Regions from separate parts of the Homo sapiens genome. Here regions 1, 2, 3 and 4 are each linked to region 5. Evidence: promoter capture Hi-C in 16 types of primary human blood cells and fetal thymus (Javierre and others, 2016). All regions are on one chromosome and are shown on one strand. Each heading gives the region's core, a stretch centred on a gene start or on the middle of the fragment in contact. The rest is flanking DNA. Distances are from core to core; before and after follow the strand shown.

Evidence for each region. Contacts are between HindIII fragments. The CHiCAGO score rates a contact against its expected background, and 5 or more counts as called.
Region 1: a contact is called between a fragment that was not itself captured here and the fragment with the promoter of MCM6 in region 5, in 11 of 17 cell types (neutrophils, activated CD4 T cells, naive CD8 T cells and 8 more). The highest score is 11.6, in neutrophils.
Region 2: a fragment that was not itself captured here is called in contact with the fragment with the promoter of MCM6 in region 5 in 5 of 17 cell types (erythroblasts, naive CD8 T cells, naive CD4 T cells and 2 more); the score reaches 9.9 in erythroblasts.
Region 3: a contact is called between a fragment that was not itself captured here and the fragment with the promoter of MCM6 in region 5, in 2 of 17 cell types (monocytes and erythroblasts). The highest score is 6.9, in monocytes.
Region 4: a fragment that was not itself captured here is called in contact with the fragment with the promoter of MCM6 in region 5 in 3 of 17 cell types (monocytes, total B cells and total CD8 T cells); the score reaches 6.8 in monocytes.

What each region holds. Positions count from the first base shown.
Region 1 is chr2:136,403,945-136,407,607 of GRCh38, reverse strand. No RefSeq gene overlaps it. Among named protein-coding and RNA genes, the nearest start is that of CXCR4, 290 kb to the right of the region's middle. The HindIII fragment of the contact is 3,476 bases long and covers 211-3,663 here.
Region 2 is chr2:134,937,361-134,940,907 of GRCh38, reverse strand. It overlaps CCNT2 (cyclin T2), which reads right to left. Exons shown (of 9, transcript NM_058241.3): 4 at 1,846-1,906. Among named protein-coding and RNA genes, the nearest start is that of CCNT2, 20 kb to the right of the region's middle. The HindIII fragment of the contact is 3,014 bases long and covers 1-2,890 here.
Region 3 is chr2:134,990,911-134,994,324 of GRCh38, reverse strand. MAP3K19 (mitogen-activated protein kinase kinase kinase 19) reads left to right here. Exons shown (of 13, transcript NM_025052.5): 9 at 2,745-2,788. Among named protein-coding and RNA genes, the nearest start is that of MAP3K19, 55 kb to the left of the region's middle. The HindIII fragment of the contact is 2,696 bases long and covers 252-2,947 here.
Region 4 is chr2:136,425,215-136,428,361 of GRCh38, reverse strand. No RefSeq gene overlaps it. Among named protein-coding and RNA genes, the nearest start is that of CXCR4, 310 kb to the right of the region's middle. The HindIII fragment of the contact is 8,463 bases long and covers 1-3,147 here.
Region 5 is chr2:135,874,780-135,878,265 of GRCh38, reverse strand. It overlaps MCM6 (minichromosome maintenance complex component 6), which reads left to right and starts at 1,823. Exons shown (of 17, transcript NM_005915.6): 1 at 1,823-2,007. The coding sequence starts at 1,901. RefSeq lists enhancers at 1,549-1,608, 2,299-2,428, 2,198-2,733 and a silencer at 2,069-2,228. The HindIII fragment of the contact is 12,304 bases long and covers 1-3,486 here.

The DNA of each region.
Region 1 (3,663 bases), core at 699-3,198, 530 kb before region 5:
CTTGGGCTGTCCTCCTGCCCCCACACCAGGGCTCAGCACTGGAGCCCAAAGAGAGACAAGGAGCCCTCACATCTTTTCAAGTGGGCACCAAGAAGCAACACCCATTCCCAATCCCAACACCTGCTTGAGTTCCCTGGAAACAAAATTGCCTGGAGAGGATTCTCTCACCGCCACAATCATTTTGCTAGCTCAAGCCACCACCAGAAAGCTTTCCCTTGGTGTCATGCTGTATTTTATGTTGCCTTTAAGTGTAGGTTTCTAAGAGAGGATAAACAGGTTAGTGAGCAGAACACCAAGGGGAAATATGGAGCAGAGTTGAGAGTCAGTGATAAAGAATAACGGAGCTCTATTATTAGTGAAGTCACTCTGCTTTTAAAAGGGGCTTGCACGTCTGGGCAGCCATTAAGTGCACTCAAAAACAGCTTGATGTGCTTGCTTTAAACCTGTTCATTTTTTTCTTCAACCACAGAAGCTGTTGTGCCAATATACCCGCTTCTTGAGGTTGTGAAGGCAATTTGTCTGCTTGCTGCCTTCCCTCGTGTCTGGGGGTAGCTGCAGCAGGCTGGCAAATGCTATGACACCAAGTCCCCATGCAGTGCCGGGGGCTAGAGCCCCTATAGTTGCCTCCCTTGTTCCCTGGAAATTGTCCTTTCAAATGCAGGCAGCTCCACTAGACGCTGGGGGACGTGCCATTGGAATCATGGGATTTTCTAGTGGGAAGGCAACTATGAAGCAGCAGATGATCTGGCAGACCCCCTTCGGAGGTGATGGAATGACAGAGTGGAGCAGTGATGGCACAGAGGCACAGATGAACAGAAGCAGAGCCGGACAGGAGCTCAGGGCTCCCACACCTGCCCCTGCACACTCTCTCAGCCATGTGCTGAGGGAGTCTGATTCTGCTCCCGTCCTTGTGACTTGCTTGGGAATCTCCATGTGTGCCCGTGGTTGGCTTCAGCAACCTTGGAGAGAACGATCCAGGGCTGGAAATAATTTCTTCATTGGGTTCACATTGCTTGAGGCTCTGCCCTCCACCAGAGATGAAGCTAAGTTCTGGGGACACAGAAGAGGGAACTCATAGTCTAGTGGGAACAGCAATCCACAAACCAAGAATCCCCCTATGATTGCCATGGCAAAAGAGGTGGACACTGGGGCCCTGGAAAGGAAGCAGTAGGCTGCTGTCTGAGCTGGAAAAGCCTCCCTGGAGGAGGTGATGTTTGTGCTAAGCCACAAACCCCTTCTCTGAGCAATAACCTATTCCCTGGTCTTCCTGGGCTGAGGGCACTAATCCCACTCAGGATTTCAGCACCTTCATACTCGCCCTTTGGTTGCTTGGGACCCAAAGCTCTGCCCTCCCGGGAAAGCCTTCTCATCCTTTCTCATCTTCTTCAAAATGTGCTTCCTGTTTTACTGGAAAACATTCTAAGACTAGATGGCGATGGTTGTACAACTCAATAAATGTACTCAAAATCATTGAATTGTACACTTGAGTGAACTGCACACTGTGTAAATGATACCTCAATAAAGCTGTTTTTAAAAACTTCCAAACATTTTTTATGTTGTAGCATACAAAAAAAAAAAGATAGCATTGGTATCATACCCTGGGTAAGCTAAAGGAAATTTAGAGTTTGGTGAAAAAAAAAAAAAAAAAAAAAAGATCATTATACTTTATATCATTATAAGAAAAGTAAAATGTAAAAGTTTCAGAAAGGTATTAAATTTTGAATTTATATAAAATTTCCAAATAAAATATTTTCAAATATTGAAGTGGATAAACTTGAATTTGTGTCCGTGAACATACTTTGTACAACCTCTCTGCAAGGTATAAGGTGCTCATTCTCTTGGGGGACACAGGTTGGAAATGGTTCCACGTAATCTTTGAACAACACTTCTTCATGGCTATCCCTTTAAATTCTTGGTGGTCTCCCTCAACAAGACACTTTACTCACACAAGGAGGTAATACAAATTTTTAAATCATTTTTATAACCTTCAAAAATCTACACTGAAATTACAATGAAATAATTCAATAACTCTTTTCTTTCATTGACAAATAAGGAATATTGACATTTTTGTGATCATGTAAACAGATTTCAAATTCAATCAAATTTCTCATCCCAAGTACTTCAACATAATGATAACATGTACATTTGCAAAATGTACATGAATTATTAGGATAGTCAGCCTACACAGAGCTGGCTTAGATGCCACTGAAAGGTATAGAAGCTACAAAAATACTTATCCAGGGCATGTGAAGACACTTGGAGTTAATGCCCACCAGGATACACTAAGCAGCCCACGCCTTGCACAACCTACCCTGCTCTCTGGACACCTGCAACGCTGGCTCCTCCAGCCACTTTCTAGGCCCTCATCCTCAGTGGGCAGTGGTGGTCCTACAGCCGCCTTCCTATGTGGATGTCCAGGAAATAGGGCAAGTGGTGGATGGGTTCAGAGCAGGACTGTGGGGCATGTCCGTGGACCCCACTCCATTCAGATGCCCTGAGAGACACCTGAGACCCCATCTATCACCCCAAGGGATGAGGAGATCCTGATCTTGGGGGCATAGGCTGAGCTGATGCCTGAGAACACCTCCTATGTTTGAACTCCCAGAAAACCTACCAGCATTTGCTAAGTCTTCAGCCACCCTGAGACAATAGTCACTTTGAGGGCTTGCAGGGAACTCCCTGGAGAGGGAATGTGCTGCTAGTGAGAGGAAAAGGGGGTTAAAAACACAAACTTGGAAAAATCTGTATTTAAGAAGTGGGTGGACAAGTACCAGCTTGGGGAGAAAATAGAAGGGGAGGAAAACCAAATGCTGAGCGATCACAGAAATCAAAGGCAGGAAGCAGTTGACCAAAAGAGGGAGTAAAGTCTTAGGAGGAGGAGAAGTGAGGCTGTGGGAAGTTGGTGGAACAGCGGGCATCTCAGAAGACAGAGGCTCAGGAAAGAGGTGTAAAGTGGGGAGTTGGGGGTGCAGCCTGGTAACCTCGAAAGTCACATGGCAAATGGAAGCATGGCTTTCTCATTTATTGGCTCAAGGGAAGGAGCTTATGAAGGGCACAGCTGCTGGTGTGGGGGAAAAGGGAGACTCAAGGACCTGGGAGGCATGAGTCAGGGATGCATAAAGAAAGGTCTTCCTAGGAAGGAAAGCATTGCTGTGCCTCTGACTTGGGAGAAAATGTTTTCCTGATGACAAAGAGGAGACTCAAGGAGCCAACAGCCACCATCTAATCAATTGGTGCAACAGATGGAGACAGCTGGTCCATGGCAATGTTCCTTCATTATTCATGTGCCAGCATTTTCTGGACAGCTGCTATGTGCCAGGCCCAGAGACAACTGAGACATGGGTCTTTTCCATTAGGAGATCAGAGTAAAGGGAAAGAAGTGAAGTATCAGATCATCACAGACCCAGGAGGAATGATGGGGAGATTACAGAAAGCAGCCGAAAGTCATGGAAGGAGCACCCACTTAGAGGGCTAAGGCAGGCTGCCCCAAGGAGGCAGAATCCTAGCCAAGACTTAAGGAGTTAAACAGGAGGGGAAATGTTCCAGGTAACTGCCCAGGGGCAAAATAGAGCATGGTCATTTGGGAAGTGAAAAGTTCAGTTTGGATGGAGGGTGGATGGCAAAATGTAGAAAGGTGAAAGGCGATGGCTCAAGAGATGAGGC
Region 2 (3,547 bases), core at 134-2,633, 940 kb after region 5:
TGGGCAACTGTAGCTACAGACCTCAATCTACAGTACATATCAAACAATTCAACTTTTTTTTGTAACATCACAACTTTCATCTGCTTCTTGGGAGCACTTCTGGCATCACTAGAGGCACTTTGTATGGGTCCCATGGTATTAATCCAAGTTTCCAGTATCGCACTAAATACGGTAAAAATATGCCAGAACCTCTTTTACCGCAATATGTAATTTACTGGAGAGACAAACTGTTCAGAGATGACAGGTGTCACACAGCATTTTACGTGGATACTCATAACATGTGAGCTCACTGCAATAGCAACAGGAGGTGGCTACAAAATTATCACAGCAGTACAGTTACGTATTATTAAAATTAATTTTATGTACCTTTACATTTGTTTATTTACATTTTCTCTTAACTGCGAATAGAGCCACATATTGTCTGTTTGTGTGCCTAACTTTTTAAAATTTTTATCTTTTAAAAATAGATTTATGTATATTTTATGGCAGTAAATGATAAAATAGACTAATATCTATATATAGTTTATGCATTCATGACATATCCAATTTTTTCAATATTTCTAGGCTACAGCTCACCTACAAGTTTTTTCAAATTGTTGCAAATTCCCAATTTTCCAATATTATTTATTGAAAAAAATCCATGTAGACCCATGGAGTTCAAACCCGTGCTGTTTGAGGGTCAACTGCATATGTATTTCACACAAACTAGTTTTGTAACGAAGAGTCTGTCACAATGGGAAATTGTGACTGATTTATCGCACTTCTATTCAACATCTGGGAATGGAGTAATGAAATTAAAAAAATGACAAATTCACGATATGACTCAGATACTATTCCACCTCTACAGAATGGAGGTACAACAGGTAAAGGAACTTTTGCCCAAGTTTACAAAGCAAGTCAGAGGCCTACAGATTTTAACTTGGATCTCCCCAAAGCCCATGTTCTTCCTACCACATCCTAGTAGGTTCTTCCAGAACTAACATATGACTTTAGATAAGCCATCACTTTCTTAGGCCTCAATTTCAGTAAATTGAGTAAGGTGAATGGTGACAGTAAATGAACTTGCATACAAAGATATAACCTTTAGAAAAGGATGACCAACATTTAAATAATTACTATGTCACATTAAAAATCATATGATAGGCCGGGCGTGGTGACGCACACCTGTAATCCCAGCACTTTGGGAGGCCAAAGTGGGCAGATTCCCTGAGCTCAGGAGTTCATGTCCAGCCTGGGCAACACGGTGAAACCCCGTCTCTACTAAATTACAAAAAAATAACCAGGTGTGGCAGTATGCACCTGTAGTCCCAGCTACTCGGGAGGCTGAGGCAGGAGAATTGCTTGAACCCAGGAGGCAGAGGTTGCAGTGAGCCGAGATGGCACCACTGCACTCCAGCCTGGGCGACAGAGCGAGACTCCGTCTTAAAAATAAATAAATAAATAAATAAATAAAATAAAAAAGGTGATATACTCATAAAATACTGACTGGCAGCTCGAGGAGAATAAGGATTGCTGTGTAGGTTTGTATACATCATAATCATATAAAACAACCCTAAAGGACCATTTTACTCTCCAGTGCAAATCCAGAGTGAAGCACAGTACTTCAACTACCTGAAAACCTAAGAAATCATACTGAAGGGTACGTTTACCATTCAATTTAATTATGCCAAATGAAATTAAATTCTAGAAAAGTAATTTCCTTATAACCAGGCAACCTTATTCTGTCTAAAACCTGTTTTAAAATAACTTTCTTCAATAATACAATTATTTCAGAAATCTTTTCACTTATTTAGAATGCTTTAGTGAAATACACACAAAAAGCCATTATCTGATGTAAGTACGTACCTAGAGTTTGTAGCATTATGGTTTCAAGTATAACCAGTTCTTGAGTCTGTTGAAGGTAAGCCTGTCAGATAAAAATATTATCAAATTGATTAAAATAAAAATAACATTACTAGACTGCATGACTGTTACATCTTGTGAGAATTACAGGTTGATTACAAAAGAACCACAGTAGTTTGAAAATATGGAGAAAATAAACTGAGGGTGACAGAGAAAGCCTGTATTCTGTGGCAAGCCTAAACTGAATTACTTTCTGTAACAGGAAACAAACACCAGAAAACAAAAACCTAACCAATATGAAAGAGGGTAAGTTAATTGAAATAAGGAGATGTGCACAGTCTGTAAAGTGAAACAACCTAGGCACTGGTGCTTCAAGAGATATTAAAGACAGGAAGCACCAAGTCAATTAAAAACATCCAACTCAAACCTGCCTTTAACCCAAACCTGGCTTACAAACTCACTCTAGGACATTTCATGTGGTAATTCCTCAAAAGTCACAGTAAGTCACTGAGTAAATTTTAGAATTAACTTCCCTGCCACCTTAGAAATGACCAAACATACCAAAATAATGTATCTCATACCCACGGGGACATAAATACCAGAGAACCTCCTTATTCAATTTCAAGAAATTATCCCTCTATTACAGTTACTCTGGAAATAAAGGATATGAAAAATTACTGCTGTCCTATTCTGAAATCATGACAATTGACCAAAGTGATAAGGAAATACTATATTACTGATATGAATATACCTATATTCATTTTTGTAAGGACATATTTCTAAAGCCAGAGAGTAAAAGTACCTTTTATTTTATTTATGCTCTACTTTGAAAGGTCATTGAGCTGATTTTTAAAACAGTCAATTTCTATTATTTAAACAGTACCCCAAGAAATAGTTCTGAATTTGTACAGTTAATATAAACTGTAGGAATTATCTTTAAATAATGACAACCTATTATTTAATGGCTACATTAACAGTTTACTCCCTTAAAGCCAACATTATGATAAAACTTGCCATTAATAAAATCAGATATAGTTCCATTGAAGCTTAAATTAATCGGGACTTTGAATTAATATAATCTGTTAGTCATTCAATGGGTAAAGGTTCCTGATTAAGTAACTCAGGATGCTAGAAAAAAAAATTTTTTTTTTGAGACGGTGTTTCACTCTTGTTGCCTAGGCTAGAGTGCAATGGCACGATCTCAGCTCACCGCAACCTCTGCCTCCTGGGTTCAAGCGATTCTCCTGCCTCAGCCTCCCAAGTAGCTGGGATCACAGGCATGTGCCACCATGCCTGGCTAATTTTGTATTTTTAGTAGAGATGGGGTTTCTCCATATGATCAGGCTGGTCTCAAACTCCCGACCTCAGGTGATCCGCCTGCCTCGGCCTCCCAAAGTGCTGGGATTACAGGCATGAGCCACTGTGCCTGGCCGAAAATTTTTAAAGGGCCATAATTCTAACTTCCTTATTTCTCCTTATTTCTTAAGATGTCAGAAAAATTTAAAACAGTTCTTTCAAATAAGGTCTATTACAATGTTGATGATAAAGTTGTCTGGAAAGGAACATTACTCTAGGAAAATTAAAATACTAAAAAAATGCTGCTCATGAAAGCAAAATAAAATGCAGCTTTATGTATCAGAGAGATAAGCAGTAGTACATGCATTAAAAAAGGAACAATACTTTAAAAAGACTACTCATCTAGGGG
Region 3 (3,414 bases), core at 350-2,849, 880 kb after region 5:
TCAGTTCCCATTCCTTTCTGAAATTCTTATTTCTGGTTGGGCTGTCCCCTTGCAAGCATTGGGCAGAACACAGAAAGCTGACAACTCAATCAGTTATTATTCGTCCATATAGTTTTCTCTGTCCAAAATGTTGATATTGCTCATCTGTTGTTTTATCATTTGGGTGTTTTTATTTTTTGTCCTTATTTACATGTTTTTTAATTCTTTTACTGTGATTTTAGTGTGATTTGTGGAGGGATTGGAGAAAAGCTTGTACATTCAATCTGCCATTTTTAATTGGAACTCTGTACTTATTTTATTTTATTTACTTTTTTGGAGATAGGGTCTCGCTCTGTTGCCCATGCTGGAGTGCAGTGGTGCAAACATGGCTCGCTGCAGCCTCAATATTCCAGGCTTAAGTGATCCTCCACCACAGCCTCCTGAGTAGCTGGGAGTACAGGTGCATGGCACCACACCTGGCTACTTTTAACATTTTTTGTAGAGATGGGGTCTCGCTATGTTGCTCAGAGTGGTCTCTACACATTTTTAAAAGGCTTTGACACATGTTACCAAATTACCTACCAGAAAGATCTTGCCTCTACATTCCCACCAAAAGTCTTTACCCCACATAATTCCTGACCAATACTGGATAATACATATTCAAATATTTATAAGAATACTTGAAAGCGTTTTTTTAAAAAATTCAGGATGCTATCCATTATGTACCCAACTATAAATTATATTCAGTTGTATTTCTAGATTAACTTCTAACATCTTTTCAATAGAAAACCTCAACCTCTAGAATGCAACCTCTGGGAGCAAAGAGCAAAGATCTGTCTTTCCTGCCCACAACTATAAATTGCCATCTTCTGGGACAGTGTTGGCCACTCAGCAGGCACTCAGTAAATAATTGTTGAGTAAATGCATTAAGAATGAAGGGGAGGTGCCATGGCCAGCTGTGTCCAAGGGGAATGCCTGTGCCCCCTCCTGTTGCCTGTTGGGGTCCTCTTCTTAGGTGACTTGTTTTTCACCTGGGATTGGCTTTTCTACTGTGTTAAATCTTAGAAGTCTTTTTCTCTCCGTGTGAAACTTCAGAATGACAGCCTGAGGCTGAAATGGACCTACAGACATTTGTTTGACCCTCACAACATTGAAAAACAAGGGAGGAGAGGCCAGGCCCAGTGGCTCACACCTGGAATCCCAGAACTTTGGGAAGCCAAGAAGGGAGGATTGTTTGAGCCTAGGAGTTTGAGACCAGCCTGGGCAATACAGTAAGACCCTGTCTATACAAAAAATTAAAAATATAAAAATTTTAAATAAATAAGCAAGGGTGGGGGAAGGAGATTTCACATAAAACCTGCAGCTTGGGTTGGGCGCGGTGGCTCACACCTGTAATCCCAGCACTTTGGGAGGCCGAGGCCGGTGGATCACGAGGTCAAGTGTTCGAGACCAGCCTAGCCAACATAGTGAAACCCCGTGTCTACTAAAAAATAAAAAATACACAAAAAATTAGCCGGGCATGATGGCAGGTGCCTGTAATCCCAGCTTCTCGGGAGGCTGAGGCAGGAGAATTGCTTGAACCCAGGAGGTGGAGGTTGCAGCGAGCTGAGATCATGCCACTATACTCCAGCCTGGGCGACAGAGCGAGACCCTGTCTCAAAAAAAAAAAATCTGCAGCTCTCTGGCTTCTTTTGGAAGATGTAGCAGGGCTGGACTATCTATCTGGGTTGGATAACATCACTGCGAGCTGGGTAATGATGCCCCTTTAGTTGGGCATATGATCTCGATTTACTGCTGTGTCTTCCTGTCCCACATCATCCATTTCTGTGAACTGTTTTGACCCTGGAGACACTGGAGCTTTTGGCTTCAGCTTTAGAAAGTCCAAACTATGCAGAAGTGGTGGTGGTGGTGGTTCATGGGGTTTTGGGGATCATTCTGACTTTTTGGTAAGAAGAGAACAACTTGTAAGTTTTATACTACCTAGTAAGTCCCATCTCGTTCCCTAGGTGAGTCTTCCTCACACTCACCTTTCAGAGTTTATGGTCGATCTAGTTTAAACAACTGTTGGGAGACACTTATACAAGAATATTTTCACATTTCTGCACAGTTCAGGCTTTCTAAGCAAAAAACACTAGGAAACTAAGTTAAAAGATGACTGAATGTCAGAAACGCCTCCGAAGTTAGTGTATTGCTCCAGAGAAATTTAGAGGCTGATTTTCCCAAAAGCTGTTTGCTTATATTCTAGGGTAATAAAACATAGAGTCATCTTTCTCCTGGAGGCATTTGCTTACAATTCATAGTAAAGTGCTCTCTCCTTCTCTGGAGGGAAAGATGGGCTAAAGTGCCACCACCCAATATACCACCTGAGTCTCATCATTCCAGAGCTCCCTCCTGTGATGCAGCTCTGCCAGCTGTGCAGGTCAACACCCGGCTCTCATCACGTTGCCCTGTGAGGAACTGGGTTGTGGGGAACTGGCATTACAATGTTCTGTGAGTGATAAATGGTCTGCTCTCTGGTCCAGAGATCTCAGGTTTTCTGTCAGAATAGAGATATAAATATAAAACAGCAACCCCTGCTAGTGGCAGCAGCCTGAAGTTTTGTGTGATGATTCCACCTCTGTGTGAATTCCACAGGGGAAACCTCCAATTTCTACAACTTTTCCTCAGACCCCTTAGCATCTGTATTACTCCATCCCCAGACTCTGGCTTGAGACTGTTTTCTTTCTACTACTAAGAATATCCAGTTATTGTTTTTCTTGTTGTAGAGTTTTCGACCTCTCATATGAAGTACAGTGGCCGAAGCATCAAGGTAAGATTAGTGCTAGCATTTTTGACTTGAGAATTAAAACCAAACAACTCTATTCACTAATTTAGAACCAAATCCTCAGCAATTACACTTGACCCTTCAACAATGCAGGGGGTAGGGTCACTGATGTCCCCAACACAGTCAAAAATCCACACATAAGCTTTGATTCCCCCAAAACTTAGCTACTAATAGCCTACCGGTTGTTTTGTTTTGTTTTGTTTTGTTTTGTTTTGTTTTTTGAGACAGAGTCTCACTCTGTCACCCAGGCTAGAGTGCAGTGGTGCAATCTCGGCTCACTGCAAGCTCCGCCTCCCGGGTTCACGCCATTCTCCTGCCTCAGCCTCCCGAGTAGCTGGGACTACACGCACCCGCCACCACGCCCGGCTAATTTTTTGTATTTTTAGTAGAGACGGGGTTTCTCCATGTTAGCCAGGATGGTCTCGATCTCCTGACCTCGTGATCCGCCCGCCTCGGCCTCCCAAAGTGCTGGGTGTTCTGTTTTGTTTTGTTTAGAGACAGGGTCTCGCTATGTTGGCCACGTTGGTCTTGAACTCCTGGCCTCAAGCAATACTCCCCCTTAGCCTCCCAAAGTGCTAGGGTTACAGATGTTAGCCACCGCACATGGCTGC
Region 4 (3,147 bases), core at 261-2,760, 550 kb before region 5:
TTTATGGAAGTGGGACCTACTGCTATTTCTGTTCCCATCTCCAGAAGGTTTAAGTCAGATACCTTCTGGAACAGTCTAAATGTGGAGGCAGGAAGAGGGGTGGAAAAGATAAAAGACCTTTGGATTAAAAGTGAGGAATTGGCCAGGCGCGGTAGCTCATGCCTGTAATCCCAGCACTTTGGGAGGCCAAGGCGGGTGGATCACCTGAGGTCAGGAGTTCAAGACCAGCCTGGCCAACATGGCGAAACCCTGTCTCTACTAAAAATACAAAAAAGTTAGCCAGGCGTGGTGGCGCACGCCTGTAGTCCCAGCCACTCGGGAGGCTGAGGCGGAAGAATCACTTGAACCCAGAAGGCCAAGGTTGCGGTGAGCTGAGATGGCACCACTGCACTCCAGCCTGGGCACAGAGTGAGACTCAGTCTCAAAAAAAAAAGTGAGGAGTTCTGGGCCATTGATGAAAAACCACTTAACATTTCCAGGCCTTGATTTCTCATTTGTAAAATTAGAATAATATTTTCCTTACATCCTTTACAAGATTATAATGAGAAAAAGAAGGAGAAAACGGAATAAAAATTGCTAATGAAAGCACAAAGTTCTAAGAATATTTAAATAACACTAACTCTAATTAAATCAGAGTACACAGTCCATATTTAGGCATAGGAAAAAAGAAAGACTAGAAGGAAATACACCCAGTCAATTATCTCTGGCAGATAATGGTCGTTATCTCTAAATGGTAACATATGGGTGATTTTCATTTCCTCATTTCTTCCTTCCATATTTTTTGAATTGTTAAATAATAAACATAGTAGGGTGTTAAGCAGAAAAAATAGTCTAAAAGAAAAACATGTGGGTCAGTGAGATCCCACTTTCTCCTTTGGTTACATTGGTTGCCTTCTGGACATTTTATTGCTCTGTTTGTAAGTGTTACACTTAGAAGCTGGGTAAAATAAATAAAAGAAGGTCAGCTTCATACCAATCAATTTCTGTTGCATGTTAGCACTCCTTTGAAAGGATTTGATAGAAAGAGGCGGCTGAAGCCTCGTGGCTGGAATAAGGCTTAGACGGCATGTTTGCATTTCAACCATTCAGGCTGCCCCCACTCCCTGCTACTACAATTTAACTCTGCCATGTTGTTTCACCTCATTTGGGAACCACATATGAAGTTGTCGTGAAAATTACTTAATAGAAAAAATGTTCATAGATTCTCAGGTAAAGAGGTACAATGTAGAAGTTCCAGAGGTAAAGAGGTATGATGTAGAAGTGTTGTGCATATGTGATTTATAAAGTGGTATTGCATACCCAGACTCAATACATCAGCAATGGATTGGCTGCTGACCATAATGGTAACAAAAACATATACTTTTATGGGAACAAAACATATACTTCTATCACTGAACTAAATACTTCTTGAGTCCCTACAACGTGCTAAACAGAATGATGACAAAGACAGACTCAATCCCCTGGCACCTAACACAGTGTCTGAATATATAGAGGCTCCCAATCAACGATTGCTGAATGACTGTACGAGCCCCTTGTGCCTGAATGACTGTCCTCACAAATGTGGGCGGGACTGTCCCTGAAGAGACTGGAACCCCCAGTCACCCTAAGGAAAAGAGGCAGGTTATCAGGGGTGAGCTAGTTGTATGTCCCTTTCACCAACACCACTACCCCCCAAATAAGGGGGAAACTTTATCCCTTCAGAATCAAATTAAAATCAAAGATAAAGTAGAGGAATAAATGTCTCAAAAGCTAAACTGAGCATCACAGGCAGAATATTAGATGATCCTAAGGAATACTGTTCATTTTGTGGAGGGGGGAGTGATAATGTTGTTTTACACTTTTTAAAAAGTTTTTATATATTGAAGCATGTAAGAATGAAATAACATGAAGCCTAGTATTGTTTCTGAAGAATCTGGGAAGGAGGGTGGGCAGTGGCAAAATTAGGGATCTAGGACACAAAAGCTGTGGGATCAGCGAGACTGGCCACATGTTGGTTATGAGGGAGGCTGAGTGATAGGAGCAGGCAGGAATGCCAGTGGTTCCTACATTTGTCTGTGCATCAAAACCAGCCAGGGAGTGTCAAAGACACTGATACCTGTGTTCCACCCACAGAGACAGTGATTTACATGGTCTGGGAAAGCGACTCTGCTTTGGAATTTTTAAAAGATCCCCAAGTGATTCTAATATGCAGGAAACACTATTCTCTATACTTCTGAGTTTCAGTAAATTGCAGAACAAAAATGTCTTTTAATGTAACGGGGACAAAAGGGTAGTTAAGTAATAAGAGGAGGGTCAAGGGGCAGCCCCTGCCTCCCGCGTTGTCTGAGGATGAAGGGCTCGCTTGTCTCCCCTCTAAGTCCTTTGGTCCCAGCCTCCTCTGTCAGCAGCTGTCTCCCCATCTCTTGGTTTCTGACTCGGGGTACAGTCCACATTCAATGGCACAACCACATCAACCCACTGTCCTCTACAAATGGCACCACCCTCAAGCCCATAGAAGGACCCCTTGATTGTAGCTATTCCCCCTGACACTTCCAGTGAGCCTGGACTCCACAATGAAGCAATCTTTCCTCCCTCCCTCTTCTACTTTACCACCCTCACCCCATTCTCACTCCTCTCTTTCTTTTGTGACAGTGAATTATCCACTTTTGCCTCCCACTAGGAAGGTGAGACCAGGGCTTCCTAGCAGCCTCATGATTGAGTTTAATCATCCTTGGATGGAAGGATGTTTTTTTACCAACTCATTTCCAGCAGGACCTGCAAATCCCTCTCACCTGGTTTTCCAAAGACTCCCACAGGCAGACCCATCTTATGGGATAATGCTTTATTTTAACCAGAATGTCTCAATAATAGGTTCCATGTTCTCAGCTGTGCTCATGGTGAGGCTGTGATTTTCCTTCATGAAAATGCTATTATTACAGAACTACAGGGTCTCCATCCTCCCAAAAACAGTCTTCTATTATTCATGGGGAAATGGTGCTTTGGAGAGGGATTTGCATGTGGTTCTCTCAAGTGAGCCAAGCATGGCTGACAAAAAATGCCCTACAAACTGTAACTTCAGCAAGCCTCCCTGACATTCACCAAACACCTAGCTGTGTGGCCAGAAGTTCACTGCAAAGGTGAAAAGACCCCTGAAGTGAAAGAGAAGAC
Region 5 (3,486 bases), core at 574-3,073:
GAGGCAGAAGAATTGCTTGAACCTGGGAGGCAGAGGCTGCAGTGATCCGAGATCCTGCCACTGCACTCCAGCCTAATGACAGAGCGAGACTCTGTCTCCAAAAAAAAAAGAAAGAAAGAAAGAAAGAAAAGAAAGAAAAAAAAGAAAAAGAAAAAATTTTTCAATAAGTTGGATTTGGTGGTGGCAGGAAATCCCAGCTACTCGGGAGGCGGATGCAGGCAGATTGCTGGAGACCAGGTGTTCAAGGTCAGCCTGCACAACATAGTAAGACCTCGTCTCAAAAAAAGAAAAGAAAGAAAAAATATTTTTAATATGCAACAAGCCTCAAAAAATGGAAGTGGTCCCCGTTTCTCTTAATGTCTTGGAGGCCAAAAAAAGGTACTGGTTGGTGAAATACACATATAGATATCATCAGTACCCAGATGTTAATTAACGCCAAGGGAGTGTAAAGGGTCGCCCAAGAGAGCGACTTTACGGGAAAAGAAGGCTCTGGAACCAGAACATTTAAAAGACTCACTGAAGGAGAGGCGCCTACAAAGGATGCTAATCAGGAATGGCCAAAGAGATGGCAGAAAAACCAAGTGAAATGGTTAGGGAAAGATGGGGGAAAAAAACATAAGGATAACTCAAGCCAATAGTGCATTTTAAGAAGGGTATTAAGGCCGGGCGCTGTGGCTCACGGCCGTAATCCCAGCGCTTTGGGAGGTCGAGGCAGACGGATCACCTGAGGTCAGGAGTTTGAGAGCAGCCTGGCCAACATGGCGAAAACCCTGTCTCTACTAAAAATACAAAAATTGGCTGGGCATGGTAGCGGGCGCCTACAATCCCAGCTATTCAGGAGGCTGAGGCAGGAGAATCCCCTGGACCCGGGAGCTGGAGGTTGCAGTGACCCGAGATCGCGCCACTGCTCTCGAGCCTGAGCGACTGGGTGAGACTTCATCTGAAAAAAAAAAGAAAAGAAAAAGAAAAAAAGATTAATCAAAGTGTCAAATATTTCTTTCTTTTTCTTTTTCTTTCTTTTTTTTTTTTTTTTTTTTGAGACGGAGTCACACTGTGTTGCCCAGGCTGGAGTGCAGTGACACGATCTCGGCCCACTGCAACCTCCTCCTCCCAGGTTCAAGCGATTCTCCTGCCTCGGCCACCCGAGTAGCTGGGATTACAGGCGTGCACCACCACGCCCGACTAATTTTTGTATTTTTAGGGGAGATGGGGTTTCTGCATGTTGGCCAGGGTGGTCTCGAACTCCTGACCTCAGGTGATCCACACGCCTCGGCCTCCCAAAGTGCTAGGATTACAGGTTGTGAGCCACCGCGCCCGGCCAATGTCAAATATTTCGCTGATTTTCCTCGGTCAGCACCACCACAATAATTGTGCCACCTTACCCATGCAAGGTTTAGACATCTCTTTGACTCTTTTACAGGGTTTTATACTGTGGTTTCCATTATTTCCTCTAACTAGACAGCAGAAGCGGCTTACTCATTTTTCTCTTCCATAGAGTCTTACTCCGATCGTTCAATTAATATCAGTGGAATGATTTAAAGAACATTTGAAAAACCACTCGGACAAAACCCTCAGATTCGAACTTGTTCCAGCAGCCAAAAATACCCGCGGGCCACGGCTACACTGCGCAGGCGCAAAGGCAGATGGGCTTTCTCCAGAAGGGCTTTGCATTTGGCGCGAAATCCCTTTCCGTGGGCTGGGGCTCTTGGAGAGGCGCCGTTCATTGGTCAGGTTTGGCGCGAAATCTCCAGCTCCTGTGTCACGATTGGTTCCGGCCGTGCAGGTCGGAAGAGGGGGCGGGGCGGAAGCGGCGGCGGCGCGCGCAAAGCTGCAGCGTCTGGAAAAAAGCGACTTGTGGCGGTCGAGCGTGGCGCAGGCGAATCCTCGGCACTAAGCAAATATGGACCTCGCGGCGGCAGCGGAGCCGGGCGCCGGCAGCCAGCACCTGGAGGTCCGCGACGAGGTGGCCGAGAAGTGCCAGAAACTGTTCCTGGACTTCTTGGAGGAGTAAGTCGGCGAGCGCCCCGGGCCTCGCCCGCCTCCGGAGCCTGCGGCGTCTGGGCCAGGCGGTGCCGTGTGGGCGGCGGGTGTTCCGGAACCTGGGGGTCGCGCGTCCGGGAAGCGCCTCCCCGCCCGCCCCCCAACTTTAGGCTCCGAGCCCGGCGGCCGCGAGGAGCCTGGGACAGGCTGGGTTTTTCTGGAGTAAAACCCATCTCGAGCCCTAAGACGCTCGTGCCCAGTGCTCAGCGCTTTGCTTCTGTCACTTGATGCTCACCACCCCGCGAGCCTGGTATTTGCACAGCCCTCGGTGACCGGCGCGGAAACCTGGGCTCGCTGAGTATAGTAACTGGGCCGCTGGGTGCGGCCAGGTCGAGTGGGAGGCCGAAGTGCCATTGAATCTCGTCGGTGCCCTGCTGGGCCACGCAGCCGGGAGCATGGTGCTGGGGGTTCGCAGGGCACGGGCCACCCTCGCCTCTTGTGCTGATGAAAGTTTCTGCGTCAACTGTGGTTTGAAAGCTGCTGGGGGGCGGAGCCCTGCCCTGCAGAGAGTAGCTCACCATATCCCTTCTTCTGGGTCCCTTGCTCCCCTTTCCCTCTGGCCTTCCTTTCCTTTCTCTACTCTTCTTTTTTTCTGTGCCTCTGGGCTCCTAGCTTCATAACCCCAACCTCCTCCCTGGCTTGCCTCACCCACCGGTTATTTTTCCTGGAGCAGATACACCACGGCCTCCAGGATGAAGGGTCAGCAGTTTGGAATGGCTTTTGAAGTTCTTTTTTAGTAAAATATACATAACAAAGTTGACCATTTTAGCCATTTTTAAGTGTAGAGTCCAGTGGCACTAAGTGCATTCACCTCGTTGTGCAGCCGTCACCACTCTCCCATCTCCAAACTTTTTTTTTTTTGAGGCGTAATTTAGCCCTTGTTGCCCAGGCCGGAGTGCAGTGTCACCATCTCAGCTCACCGCAACCTCCGTCTCCCGGGTTCAAGCTATTCTCCTGCCTCAGCCTCCCTACTAGCTGGAATTACAGGCATGCGCCACCACGCCCGGCTAATTTGGTATTTTAGTAGAGATGGGGTTTCTCCATGTTGGTCAGGCTGGTCTTGAACTCCCGACCTCAGGTGATCCCCCCGCCTGGGCTTCCCAAAGTGATTACAGGCGTGAGCCACCGTGTCCGGCTCCAAACTCTTTTCATCTTCCAAACTGACATTCTGTGCCCATTAAACACGAACTCTCCTCCGTTACCCTCTCCCTCAGCCACCGTCACCCACCACTCTGCTTCCTTTCATTATGAGTTTGACCACTCTAGGTACCTCATATAAGTGGAAGCGTGTAGTATTTGTCCTTTTGTGTCTGGCTTGTGTAACATAATGTCTACAAGGTTCCTCTGCGAGGTAGCATGTGTCAGAATTTCCTTACTTTTTAAGGCTAAATAACATTGTCTGTACACATTGAGTATCCCTTTTCTGAAACGCTTGGGACCAGAAGA